Regions from separate parts of the Homo sapiens genome. Here regions 2 and 3 are each linked to region 1. Evidence: promoter capture Hi-C in human tissues and cell types (Jung and others, 2019). All regions are on one chromosome and are shown on one strand. The core of a region is centred on a gene start or on the middle of the fragment in contact, and the rest is flanking DNA. Distances in the headings are between cores, read along the strand shown.

The links. The method cuts DNA at HindIII sites, captures the fragments that hold promoters and counts their contacts. A contact is called where the count stands out against the background at its distance.
Region 2: a contact is called between the fragment with the promoter of NOL10 here and the fragment with the promoter of KLF11 in region 1, in 2 of the 25 tissues and cell types used here (adrenal gland and small bowel).
Region 3: a fragment that was not itself captured here is called in contact with the fragment with the promoter of KLF11 in region 1 in 1 of the 25 tissues and cell types used here (dorsolateral prefrontal cortex).

The regions. Positions count from the first base shown.
Region 1 is chr2:10,040,636-10,044,799 of GRCh38, reverse strand. It overlaps KLF11 (KLF transcription factor 11), which reads right to left and starts at 1,250. Exons shown (of 4, transcript NM_003597.5): 1 at 1,042-1,250. The coding sequence starts at 1,083. KLF11-DT (KLF11 divergent transcript) reads left to right here and starts at 1,399. Exons shown (of 3, transcript NR_135558.1): 1 at 1,399-1,490; 2 at 1,796-2,167; 3 at 3,149-3,247. RefSeq lists silencers at 557-626, 667-716, 837-886, 1,177-1,406 and a promoter at 1,093-1,992. The HindIII fragment of the contact is 11,158 bases long and covers 1-4,164 here.
Region 2 is chr2:10,688,309-10,692,472 of GRCh38, reverse strand. It overlaps NOL10 (nucleolar protein 10), which reads left to right and starts at 2,498. Exons shown (of 21, transcript NM_024894.4): 1 at 2,498-2,677. The coding sequence starts at 2,612. It also overlaps the pseudogene RN7SL832P. RefSeq lists enhancers at 2,652-2,931, 2,992-3,051. The HindIII fragment of the contact is 16,217 bases long and covers 1-4,164 here.
Region 3 is chr2:9,490,825-9,494,988 of GRCh38, reverse strand. It overlaps ADAM17 (ADAM metallopeptidase domain 17), which reads left to right. Exons shown (of 19, transcript NM_003183.6): 15 at 222-352; 16 at 1,164-1,242; 17 at 2,003-2,091; 18 at 3,838-3,888. It also overlaps a transcript of IAH1 not described here. Among named protein-coding and RNA genes, the nearest start is that of IAH1, 18 kb to the right of the region's middle. The HindIII fragment of the contact is 5,937 bases long and covers 1-4,164 here.

The DNA.
Region 1 (4,164 bases), core at 1-2,500:
AGAAAACTAAGCCGGGGGCGAGAGGGTGATATTACTCTGAGAAGAGTAATACCCCTCCCTCCCAGGGAGGTTACAGTGGGCCGAGATCGCGCGCCCACTGCACTCCGGCCTGGGCGATAGAGCGAGACTCCCTATCAAAAAAAAAAAAAAGGAAAGGAAACTTTAAATGTACGAAGATACACGTTTCCTCTCTATCTGCCATGCACCAAAGCATCAAAGCTTTCCGTCTGCCGAGGTTCCCCGAGATCAAACAAGACGAGGCCACCTCAAATCCCCGGCCTCTGTCCCGCAGGCTGCGCCACTAAACCCCCTGTGATGTCACAGAACCGGGCGCCGAGGCCGACTCACCACACGGGCGGGAAGGGGCTCGCCCGGCCCACAGTGCCCGCACACCACGAGGCCCGCGCTCTGCCCACGTCCACGGCTACCTCCCCGAAGCCCCCAGGTCGCGACGCTTAGGGCCCCCAACGCTCGCGTGCCGCGTTCCCGCCTCCAAGCGTTGCCCCGCCTCCAAGGCAGTGCGGCGCTCCCGCCTCCCGTCGTTGCCCCGGCCCCTAGACCTTGCCCGCCCCCAGGCCCGAGCGGCACTACCGCTAGCCGCTCTTAACCCGCCCGACGGCCGCGTGCCCCGCCCCCAAAACCGTGCCGCGTTCCCGCCAGCAGCTCTTGCCCCGCCCCCAAGGCCGCGTGCCGCGTTCCCGCCAGCCGCTCCCCCGCCCAACGGCCGTCCGGCTCACAGGACCGGGGTGACGTCATGGCTGGAAATAGCCGCGGGGCCAGCGGGGCGGGGCCGCCCAGGAAGCGCAAGACAAAGCTGCGCGGGGAACACGCCCCCTCCTCGCCCCCGCCGACCCGGGCGCGCCCGTCGCGGCCGCCGCCCCGCCCGGCTCCGGAGCCCGCCCAGGCCCCTACCGGCGCGGCCGCAGCGAAGCCCTGCACGCCCCACCTCCCGCATTTACAGGCGCGCGAGTGCCGCACCACTTCCCCCGCCTCGCCCCTCGCTCAGACGAGTAGTCCCGCCGCGGCAGCCCCACCACTCACTGCGCGCGCGTCGTCTGGGCCTGCGAAGTCCGGCGTGTGCATCGTGCAGGCCGGCCGGGAGCAACAAAGCGGCCGCGGGGCGTGAGCTCGGGCGCAGCAGCGGCCGCACGTGGGCTGCGGGCGGCGGCGGCGGCGGCAACCCGGAGCTCCTGCGGCCGGCACGCGCCTCGCCCGCCCGCGCGGCTCTGCCCCGGCGCGGCCCTCGCGGCGCGGGAGGGGCGGGGCGGCCGCGGAGGGAGCGGCTGGCGGGGCGGGGCGCGGAGGCGAACCAAAATACACCGCGCCCCTGCCGGGGCGGGGCCGGCCACCACCAGCCAATTCGTGCCCGGCCGGCCAATGAGCGCCGCGGGGGGCCGCGTGATCGGAGCCTGGCCGCGGCGTGATCGGGCAGGGCGGGACGCGGCACGTGTTTTGGTCGGAGCGAGGGGCGGGGCCTGAGGCCCTGGAAAGTAAGGGAAAGGTCGCAGCGGCGCCAGGGGCAAGCGGGGCGGAGGGGGCGGCGGGGGCGGAGGGGGCGGCGGGGGCGGAGGGGGCGGCGGGGCGGCGGGGGCGGCGGGGCGGAGGGGGCGGGGCGGCGGCTGGGGAAATCCCAGGGCCGGGGCCGGACTCGGTGCGGGGAGAGGGGACCACGCTTATAGGAACCTCCTGCAGCCCCACCGGCTGAATCCATCGGTAGCGGAGACCCACCTAGAGGCCTCAACCTGGCTTTTGTTTGGTTGTTTTTAACTTCTGTCATTCTCCCTTCGTCTCTTAGGAATGCGTCCTTGACCGGAGAGGTCGGAAAGCTGGCCGGTTCTAGGTGACATTCCTGCATCCGGTCATTTTTGCAGACAGCGGGAGTCAGAGCTTATTGGCCTGAGTGTCCCGCTGACGCCCCTCCTCTGGCGTCTCTGGGCCTCTTCCGCTCTGTTACGGGGTCAGGGGAAGCCGAAACGGGCAGTCACCCAGAAGGCGCCCGCTGAAACCCGCCCATTCTTCCCAGGCCCCGAGAAAACGCCGCCCCCTCCGGGAAGTCCTCGAGCCTGCAGGAGACATCTAGCCCGCTGTCCAGGGCACCTTTTTTTTTCTCCCTATATTTCGGTTGCTCGCGTCTCTTGGTGTGGTTTGCCCACGTCTGCAGCGCCAGGTTCGTGGAGAGCAGGAACCATGCTGTTTATTTTCGTCGCCGCAGCCTTCAGCTCAGCGAGGAGCCACCCCTCCTCCGTCTGTTCACTGCGCGCGCCTTTGCTGAGCTGTGATGCGGGTTGGCGCTCAGTGCAAGGGGCAGAGGCCGCAGTGAGGAATCCTCCTTTTTTAAAAGCTCCATCCAGGGAGCGGGAGCAGAGAGAGAATCCCGGCACCCCGGGGCTTTGCTCTGAGCGAGAGAATTCTGGTCTTAGGGGAACGGGCTGGGCCCCACCACTCACATGAGCAGGACTCTGGTCCCCACTTGTTCCTTCGGGGCCCACTCGGGTTGGGCAGAGGGGTTGACCAGGCTGAGGAGAGGGTGTTTGCTGAAATAGTAAGAGGGTTTAAGACGAAAGAACCGTGATAAACTGCTCGCATGAAGACCCCGGAGGCTCTGAGAGGGGCGCAGGGTGTTCTGTGTGTAAAAAGTTAAGTCTTAAGATACACACTGGAATATTCTCTTTTGCCTGGACTCCTGCATTCGCCTTATAACTGGTCTCCCTGCGTCCACTCCAGCTCCCAGAGCCTCTTCCCACTCAGCACCCCCAGGGGTCTTTAACCCTTTCAGTGGCTCCCACTGTACTCAGCGTAACGCTTCTGCTCCCCACTGTGGCTTGTGAGCTCCTGCAGGGACCCAGCCCCATGCCTCTCCCCACGCCCCGGAGGGACAGCCTGGGCCTCCTCTTGGGCGCCTGTCCCACCAGCCCCTCTGCCGTCTCCAGGTCCTCGCACTTGCTGTTCCCTAGAATGCTTTTCCCCCACATGCCCCCTTTACTCTCACCCGCAGTCCACCTGGAGAGGCCCCCTCTAGCGGACACACCCTCGGGGCCGACCTCCAGTCCCCTTCTGGCGGGCTTTCTTGTTTTCTTCCTCCACAACACTTTTCTTGAACTGCCCCTTTTCCATTACTTCAGTTATTTATCATCTGTCTCCCCACCAGAAGGACTCTCCCAAGGCCAGGGAGCCTGGCTGTTTAATAAGTCCACGTAGGTGAACGAGCGAATCGAAGGTATCCACCAGCCTCCCTGCTTGAACATCCCGTGAGCACCTCTAATTGTGTCCTTAAAAAAACTGAACTCAGGGCCGGGCGCGGTGGCTCACGCCTGTAATCCCAGCACTTTGGGAGGCCGAGGCGGGCGGATCACCTGAGGTCAGGAGTTGAAGACCAGCCCGGCCAACATGATGAAACCCCGTCTCTTCTAAAAATACAAAAATTAGCCTGGCACGGTGGCAGGCGCCTGTAATCCCAGCTACTCAGGAGACTAAGGCAGGAGAATCGCTTGAACCCAGGAGGCAGAGATTGCAGTGAGCCGAGATCGCACCACTGCACTCCAGCCTGGGCGTCAGAGACTCAGTCTCAAAAAAACAAACAAAAAACTGAACTCGGATTCCAGCCAAATCTGGATTTCTCACCTCCGTGAAGGGTACAACTGGAGACCCTGTTCCTTGATCTAGAAACCTGAGCGTCACCTTTACCTCCTCCCTTTCGCACAGTTGCTGTCTTCCGCCAATTACATGCCCTTCTTCCTTCTCAGTTCCTCTCAAACTCTTATGTCACCCACGCCAGCCCTTGTCCTGGCCACCACCTGCTCACCTGAATTGTTGCCACTGCCTCCCAACAGGTCTCCCTCCCTCCAGCCAGACGCCCTACAATCTGCCCTCACCTCACTGCCAGAATGATCTTCTGGAAGCAGAGGTGGAGCTGAACCTGTATTCAAGCCGTCAGTTGGAATCCAAACAGTTATAGGACTGACTTCAGGCTCCATGGCCAGGAACCCATGAGTCTTTGTAGCCAGGCTCCAGCCAGCACTTCCTGCATCATTTCTGACCAGTTTCCCAAATTGCTTTCCCTGCTGCCTTCCTGCCCCCACTGACCCAATACAGAACCCTGTACTCTCAAGGTCACGCCACTCTCTTCTGTTTCTAGACAGCATTCCTTCTGCGTGGAACATGCCA
Region 2 (4,164 bases), core at 1,249-3,748, 650 kb before region 1:
CAGCTACTCAGGAGGATAAGGTGGAAGGACAGCTTGAGCTCGAGTTTGAGGCTGCAGTGGGTCATGATCATGCCACTGTATTCCAACCTGGACAACAAAGTGAGATGCCCCCATGGAAAAAACCCACAACGCCAACAGAAAGTAGATTAGTGGTTGTCTAGGGCTTGGGTGGGGGATGGGGCATGGAGTGAATGCTAATTGAGGCTGGGGTTTCTTTTTGTTCTAAAAATGATTGTGGTGATGGTTGCAGAACTCTGAATACACTAGAAGTCATTACATTGTACATTCAATGGGGACATTTTACAGTATGTTAATTATATCTCAATAAAACTGTTAAAAAGGAAATGTTAATGGAATTTGGATACATTTCCACTTATTTGGTATATGGCTTTATTTTCAGTTTTATTTTACAAACACTTACATGGTCTTACTATGTGCCAAGTACTGGGTTCCAAACGTTTTATAAATATGAATGTATTTCATCCTCATAACTCTGTGAAGTGGATACTACTGTTATCTCCATTTTACACAGGTACAGAGAGGTTAGGTAACTTACCTAAGGTCTTTCAGTTAAAAATGGCAGTCGGGATTTGAATCTTGCCAGTCTGGCTTCAGAGTCTGTGATCTTTATTTATTTTTCAAGAGATAGGGTCTTGCTGTGTTGCCCAAGCTGGAGTACAGTGTTAGTCACAGGCATGATCCCATTACTGGTGAGCATGGGAGTTTTGACTTGCTCCATTTCTGACCTGAGCCGCTTCACACCTCCTTAGGTAACATGGTGGTCCCTGGCTCTTGTGGGGTCACCATATTGATGCCAAACTGAGGACACCCAACGCTCGTTGCGTGCTACAGCCAAGAACTCCTGGGCTCAAGTGATTCTCCTGCTTCGGCTTCACTAGTAGCTAGGACAATAGGCCTGCACCACCAAGCCAAGCCAGAGTCTGTGATCTAACCATTCTATTATGCCACCTTTCCCAAAGATGTTTACAGTTTTTCTTAACTGTAACCAGTGTAGAAAATTAAAAATTTGTGGAGGATCTTAAATTTGAGGACAGAGTTAAGGAATATATCCCTACGTACATGGCTAAATGTAAATATGTAGCAATGCCTAATAGAGGCCAGGCACTGTTCTGGTACTCTGGGTAGGGGTGGATGGGGTGGATAGGGAATATAAGGACAAATGATATAGGGTCCACGAAGAACTCTCAACCTAATTCTGATGCAATGTGGTGTTGGTATTTGAGAGTTTCCAAAATGTTGTGGGTAGGAGAGCAAAACAATAATATTTGGGTTTTAGAAAGTAAGGCATAAAATAATTTGTTCATTAAATCAAAGGAAGTAAGAAGATCACTTGGGAAAGTTATAATCCAAAAATAGTTAAGTATTTGAGTTTCAGCAGGAGGAATGAAAACAGATTACTTTAAGGAAATATTTCATAATTAGAAATATCCAGGTTTAGATACTGAAAGTGAGGGCCAGAGATAGGAATGGGTTGAAGATGACGCCACAGTCTTCTTTTTTTTTTTTTTTTTTTTTTGAGACGGAGTCTCACTCTGTTGCCCAGGCTGGACTGCAGTGGCACGATCTCAGCTGACGGCAACCTCTGCCTCCCGGGTTCAGGCGATTCCCCCACCTCAGCCTTCAGAGTAGCTGAGATTACAGGCGCGCGCCACCAGGCCCGACTGATTTTTGTATTTTTAGTAGAGACGGGGTTTCACCATCTTGGCTAGGCTGGTCTTGAACTCCTGACCTCAGGTGATCCGCCCGCCTCGGCCTCCCAAAGTGTTAGGATTACAGGCGTGAGCCACCGCACCCGGCCTACAGTACTTCTAACGTAACATCGCAGAAACACTGGAGGAGAGAAGAGAATACACTTCCACTCGGAATTCGCACCCTGGTCGCCTTCATTCGCTGGGTTCACTCGCTGAACTGCCTCGCCCCCGCCCGGGAGGATGACATCTCGGCCTGGGCAGAGACTCGAAAGCCTCCTCCTGCCGCTCGGGATGCTAACAGCAGGGAGAGCTGTGTCTAGTTTTTTTTTTTTTTTTTTTTTTTTTGAGAGGGAATCTCGCTCTGTCCCCCAGGCTGGAGTGCAGCGGCGCGATCTCAGCTCACTGCAACCTCCGCCTCCCAGGTTCAAGCAATTCTCCTGCCTCAACCTCCCGTGTAGCTGGGACTACAGATGCCGGCCACCACGCAAGGCTAATTTTTTTGTATTTTTAGTAGAGACGGGGTTTCACCATATTGGTCAGGCTGGTCTCGAACTCCCGACCTCAGGTGATCCGCCCGCCTCAGCCTCCCAAAGTGCTGGGATTACAGGCGTGAGCCACCGCGCCCGGCTTGTGTCTAGTCTTGCCCGTAGCAGCGTCGCCGACAGCCACGCCGGGTTGTCAGAGCCTCACTAGTTTTTCTCCCGGCCGCCGCTCTTCCCGGATTCAGCCACCTTCCCTCTTCCGGGAACTTGCCCGCGTGTTCCGGCTCCAGGAAGTGCGTCATCAGTCGGCGCCAGCGGCCGCACGCCGCGGAGCAGGGGCTCGGAGGTCCCGGGATTACGGTGCTCGAGCACGCTGGTGGGAAAGGACCCGGGACTTGAACAGTGTTGTGCGGCGCCATGCAGGTCTCCAGCCTCAATGAGGTGAAGATTTACAGCCTCAGCTGCGGCAAGTCCCTTCCTGAGGTGAGTCACTTCCCGGCCCCCTCACTCTCGAGCTCTTGGGGGTCGTCCTCCTCGTGGGGCAGCCGCCCCTCTCCTCGGCCCTAGCCTCTGTTTTAGCTGGACGCTGGTCACCCCCCGACTCGGGGAGGCCCAGAGGCGGCTGACAATTTCCGGGGGAGGTGTCGGCATTGGGAGACAAGGACACTGCCGTCACCGCGCCAGAAACTGGACCAAGGGATAATCAGGGTCAGTGAGCTTTGCTGGAACTTTTGTAAAGTTCTCTGTTCCAGAGAACGCAACCATTTGGGCCTCTTTGGGTGTTCACAGTCCCTGCCGTACATCGAGGAGGAAAACGTGGCAGATTCGTTGACACATCTCTCCCCCATATGGCCATCAGCTGTTTGTGGAGTCCCTATCATTTGCCAGGTCTTAGGGATACAACAGTGAACAAGGGAGATACAGACTTCGCATCTGCAGAATTTATGGTGTAGAGGACAGTATTTTCGAGACTTGTTGAACTTAACCTGATTCCTAGTCTTAAAGTTGGAGAGGGCTTGGACAAGTCGGTAATTCTCTTCCAATCTTCTCGTGTTTAGTAATGCAGCTGAGATTTAATAATGCGTTTAATATGCAGCTGAGATCCAGCAAGGGGAAGGGTGACTTGTCCAGCATGACACACTTAGGCTCTGAAACTTGTCTTTTGTTTCTTATACGTGATGATCCAGCCTCTGTCCAAGCACTACCACTGAGCACTACCTTTTGTGGAAGCTCATTTCCATTTTGAGACTCTGCACTTGTTAGAAAGTGGTTTTCAAATATGTCACCTTATAGCATGCCACTGTTGGCCTGAGTCCTGCCCTTGGAAAACAGAATAAATATAGCTCTCCTTCCATGCGTCTGCTTCTACAAAAATTTGGAGCCAGTGCTTAGGTTTTTCCTTTCTTCCTAAAATTCTGGTTTGAATAATTCCCTGTCTTCCAGTTGTTCTTCACACCCCATGAGCTTTCTCATTTTGTTCATTCATTCTCCACATGTATTGAGAAGTTACTGTGTGCAAGCAACTCTGTTTTAAGTATTGGGATCTATAGTGGACATTTCAGATAAGGTTCCCTGTTGGGGAAAAGGGAAATAAACAAGTGAGCAAATAAGGCAATTTAAGGTAGTCAAAAAGTACTTTTCGTGGTGAATGATTAGAAGAGAGCTGTTTTGGATAAAATATTGAGAGAAAGTGTTTTGGATAAAACCTTCGGGGAAGGCCTCTCTACAAGAGGTGACATATGAGCAGAAACTTGGATGATGAAGAGGAGCCAGTCGTGTGAAGATGTGGGGAAGAGTTTTCAGTGCTGAGAACAGAAAGTGCAAAAGCCCCACATGGGAATGCACTGGACATGTAGGAGGACGGAAGAGGCACAGGTGTGATTGCACTATGCTGAGTGAGGGGGCGAGAGCAGGGTGGATGAGGCTGGAGAGGTAGGCCTGGTAGGAAAGGTAGGAAGTTCAAGTTTTAT
Region 3 (4,164 bases), core at 657-3,156, 550 kb after region 1:
TGCATTTTTTTTTAAACCTTGTGGCCTCTGTCACTGAAGGCTGAGGAGTGTGACCTCAGAAACTACTCCTTGGTGGGGGCTATGGATAGTATTAGCTATTTAAATAAAAAATAAATGTGATTTCTTACCTCTTTGGGAGCATGGTCAGGGAGGAAAGAGGAGGCAGGAGGAGAGGCAGGTCTCAGAACAATCCAGCTGTCAATGCGTGTTCTCTGTTCCAGAAACTGACAACTCCTGCAAGGTGTGCTGCAGGGACCTTTCTGGCCGCTGTGTGCCCTATGTCGATGCTGAACAAAAGAACTTATTTTTGAGGAAAGGAAAGCCCTGTACAGTAGGATTTTGTGACATGAATGTGAGTATTTATGTACAGCTTTTTCTGTAACAGCCAGATAGGAAGTTTTTATTTTGTAAGTACTTGATTTTGCAGATGAAAACAAATCAAAACACAAGTGGGGCTACATCCTTCTGGCCCATTGTTATCTACGGGTATTACTTAGGAGGAGAAGACGGAGTGCTTTCAGGTCCCTGCCTGTAGTTTCCTTCTGTGGTGGGAGGCTTTGAGCCCAGAGACTGAGAAGGACTGGGGTGGGGACTTTATGGTAAAGTTGGTTGGTTTCAGGCAGTGGGTCCTAATTATGTTTTCCTAGATTACTTACAGAACTGACTAAGATTGCAAAATTATTCAGGGTGTGATTTTGAAACAGGTGCTGAATGAGTAGGAAAGACCTAGAAGGCTGCTTGACTTACTTAAGCCAGACCCTTTTGTTCTCTAGAGAAGCATAATTTTTCTCATGCAGAATGATGGGAGAGGGTTTTAAGATTTACGAGGCTTCACAGGGAGTCTGGCTGTGTTGTTCACTGTCCACTGTGTATGTGTAGAGTCCTTACTGGAATGCCTCATCTTTAGCAAACTGGTTTCCTTGATTTTTGTCTCCTGGTAATTCTAAATCACTTGTAAAAATGGAGTAATTATGAAAGTGTTAATGACAGATGTTCTACTTTCTTGGGTACTCATTACGCGGAAGTTATTGCCTTGTGTCAAAGATGGGAAAACGTTTGATTTTAATGAAGCCCTTTACATGTCAGTTATTTTTATAAAGCTACATTGCTTCTGAATACATTGTGTTTGGGAATGATGCTGTATGTATGTTTTTTCTTCATAGGGCAAATGTGAGAAACGAGTACAGGATGTAATTGAACGATTTTGGGATTTCATTGACCAGCTGAGCATCAATACTTTTGGTAGGTGATTTCCCCAGATTACTTACTGAGAGCTGAGTCAATTTCTGTGATGACATTAGAAAAGTGTGCTTTCAGAGTGATGTGCTTTAATTCTGCAGTAGAAGGTGGAACTATTCACAGCTTTAGTTATGAAACAACTTTGTTGGCTAGAATAAAATGAACTCATAGATAGTCTGTCCCCGTGGAGCTTGGATGCACAGATTTTCTGACAAGGGAAATAAAGTCAAAATACTGGCTTCCTTCTTTACCCAAAAATATCCATGTGATTAGCATAAGCATAGTTTAATGCTATAGACTGAATCCTGATTGATGTAAGAGTGTTTATTTGACTGAATGCTATATACTGAATCCTGCTTGATGTAAAAGTGAGCCTCATATTTTGCAGAAGCAGGGTATATCATGTTGTCACGAGTCCATAATTTAATCACAAAAATAATATCCAGGTAACAAAAACTTTGTCTTCTTAAGCATTTACTAGTAGTAGCATTCCATATTAATCTGTTGACACAGCTACTCCAGGTAACATGTTGAATATTCTGCAATCTCTTCCTGTCAGCCAGTATATGAGGGCTATTTCTTTAAAAGCACTTGGTATGGAGAGATGGTGTGGTGTAATACAGGCAGCACAGACATTCTGCTCTCGGTAGTATGTCTAGCCAGCAGCTCTGGCATTTGACACAATGGTAATATCCTAAGAGCATTTCACTTTAGATTTGTGAAGTACTTGGTCAAGACATTAACTGTTTGGAATTGTTCACAGGAAAGTTTTTAGCAGACAACATCGTTGGGTCTGTCCTGGTTTTCTCCTTGATATTTTGGATTCCTTTCAGCATTCTTGTCCATTGTGTGGTAAGTCATCAACTTTTAAGTAATTAAATGTTTTATTTAAATTTTGATCAACTCCAACCATGTAATCTCTGGAAAAGGTAAAACTTGTTCTTAGCAAAGTTTGGCCTGATATTTCCAATAGCTTTTTTTGTTGTTATTCCTAGGGGAACATGTCTTGTAGAAAGCTTAACTAATGGTCTTTTAAAAAAAATACTATTTTTGTGTGTTGGTGTTTTAATATATAAATTTCTTAGGAATTTTATACTTTTAAGCATAGGAGACTGTTTAACTGGATTTGTCCAGGTCCTTTGATGAGTAAAGCCCTTATTGAAGAGCATTTTCAGGCTGACTTCGTTGCAATAGAGCAAATATCAAACATCGGCATTTCAGATGTTCCCCATATATCATGTAGATTATTGGCAGCAGATGGCTATGTCTTCAGCCTTCTGCACAAATAGGATGTAGGGACTGGGGCCCAGCTGTCATATAGAGTATTTACATCTTCCCCAAAAAATAAGAGTAAGCAGTCTTTTCTGTTCTCATTCAGAATCAGTAACAGCTACAAGTTGAATTGGGCTTTGACTAAGGAACTCCTGGTCCTTTATAAATTTGAGGCCCTTTTTCATAAATGTTCTTACGAATCCATTCACTTGCATCTGTGGGGAATGGGGATTTGTCTGCTGTAGAGATGAGAAAGTCACACCCAGGCTTCCAGACTTGTTTTCCCAAACTCTTTCATAGTGGCCTTCCTATGAGCATTTAAAAATTCCAGCACAACTCTGATGACAAAGGAGTTTTTCCTACTGCCTCCTTCCTTTCCTTTCCTGCTGGCTTCTCCTGCCTAGGGGCCATCTCACAGAGCAGCTCTTCCTCAGGGTGGTGAGCATGATGGGTATAGGAAGATCTCTAGGGAGCACTTGTGCTGAAGAAAGCTGAAGGTGACGTGCTTGAAGCTTTGACAGATGTCTCTGGATGACAGTGCCATCCATCACGATTGCTTCTATTGGAGGATGGAACCTATTTTGTTTACAGGGAAGTTGCACATGTGGACAAGGCACGACCCTTGATTTCAGAGCAAAGCCTCCGATAGGAGGGAGGGCCATGGCTTGTTTTTGGTCATAGAATGCATTGATGGCACCCAGACAGGAAGCCTAGTCCTGGATTCTTGGTCCTTGCCCTCTGTCACCTATTATGCTTCAGCCACAGGCAGGGATGGGGCAGCAGATGGCCATGTGGTTAGCCTTCTGCAGAAGTAGGATGTAGGGATTGAGGCCCAGTTCCTCCAGCAGAGCATGGTCCACAGAAACTGTGGAGACAGCTAAGAGAGTGAGGCCATGGGCCGGGGCAGTGCGAAGAATGCTGCAGGCCCAGCCACCTGGGTCTTCCTACCAGTTGCCCTTCCAGTCAGTGCGGTCCTGGTGTACCCAGCATCTGGGACATTTGTCATTTCATGCACAGGAAGATGCCTTTATTATTCCCCTGCCCACAGAGGGATAAATTTCTCAGAAAACATAGCACTTAAACCTTGCCTCTTTCTGTACTTAACGCCAAAATGTATTTCCTTTGAGTGCAAAGGAAACACTTCTAGACTGGTGGCATAACTAAAGCTTGGGTGAGAAATGGATTGTCATCTGTTGAGCCTGCTATCACTTTCTACAACTCAGGTTCTAAGTTCTTCAGTTAGTGTTAGGAATAGCCTGTGATGAAATAGTACTCACTAACTGAATTGTATTTGTAGGGAATGACCTTCTTGCTGTTTCTTTCTAGGATAAGAAATTGGATAAACAGTATGAATCTCTGTCTCTGTTTCACCCCAGTGTAAGTATACCATATGAAAGAAACATAATCTTCGCCTGGTCTGAGGCCCTGTTAGGCAAAGACCTTCACCTGACCCAGCAAGAGCTTTCACTGGCTGATGGAAGGTCATGTTGCAGCAGGAAGGGTCTAGGTTGGAATGTTTACCCTTCTGACAACAGTGATGGTGAACTTCGATTAGTTGCATGGATGGACATTTAAAGAGCTGTGCTGTCCCCTTCCCAAGCCATAAGGAGTGATTTAGCCATTCAACACTTAGTTAATATTTTGAGTTCAATT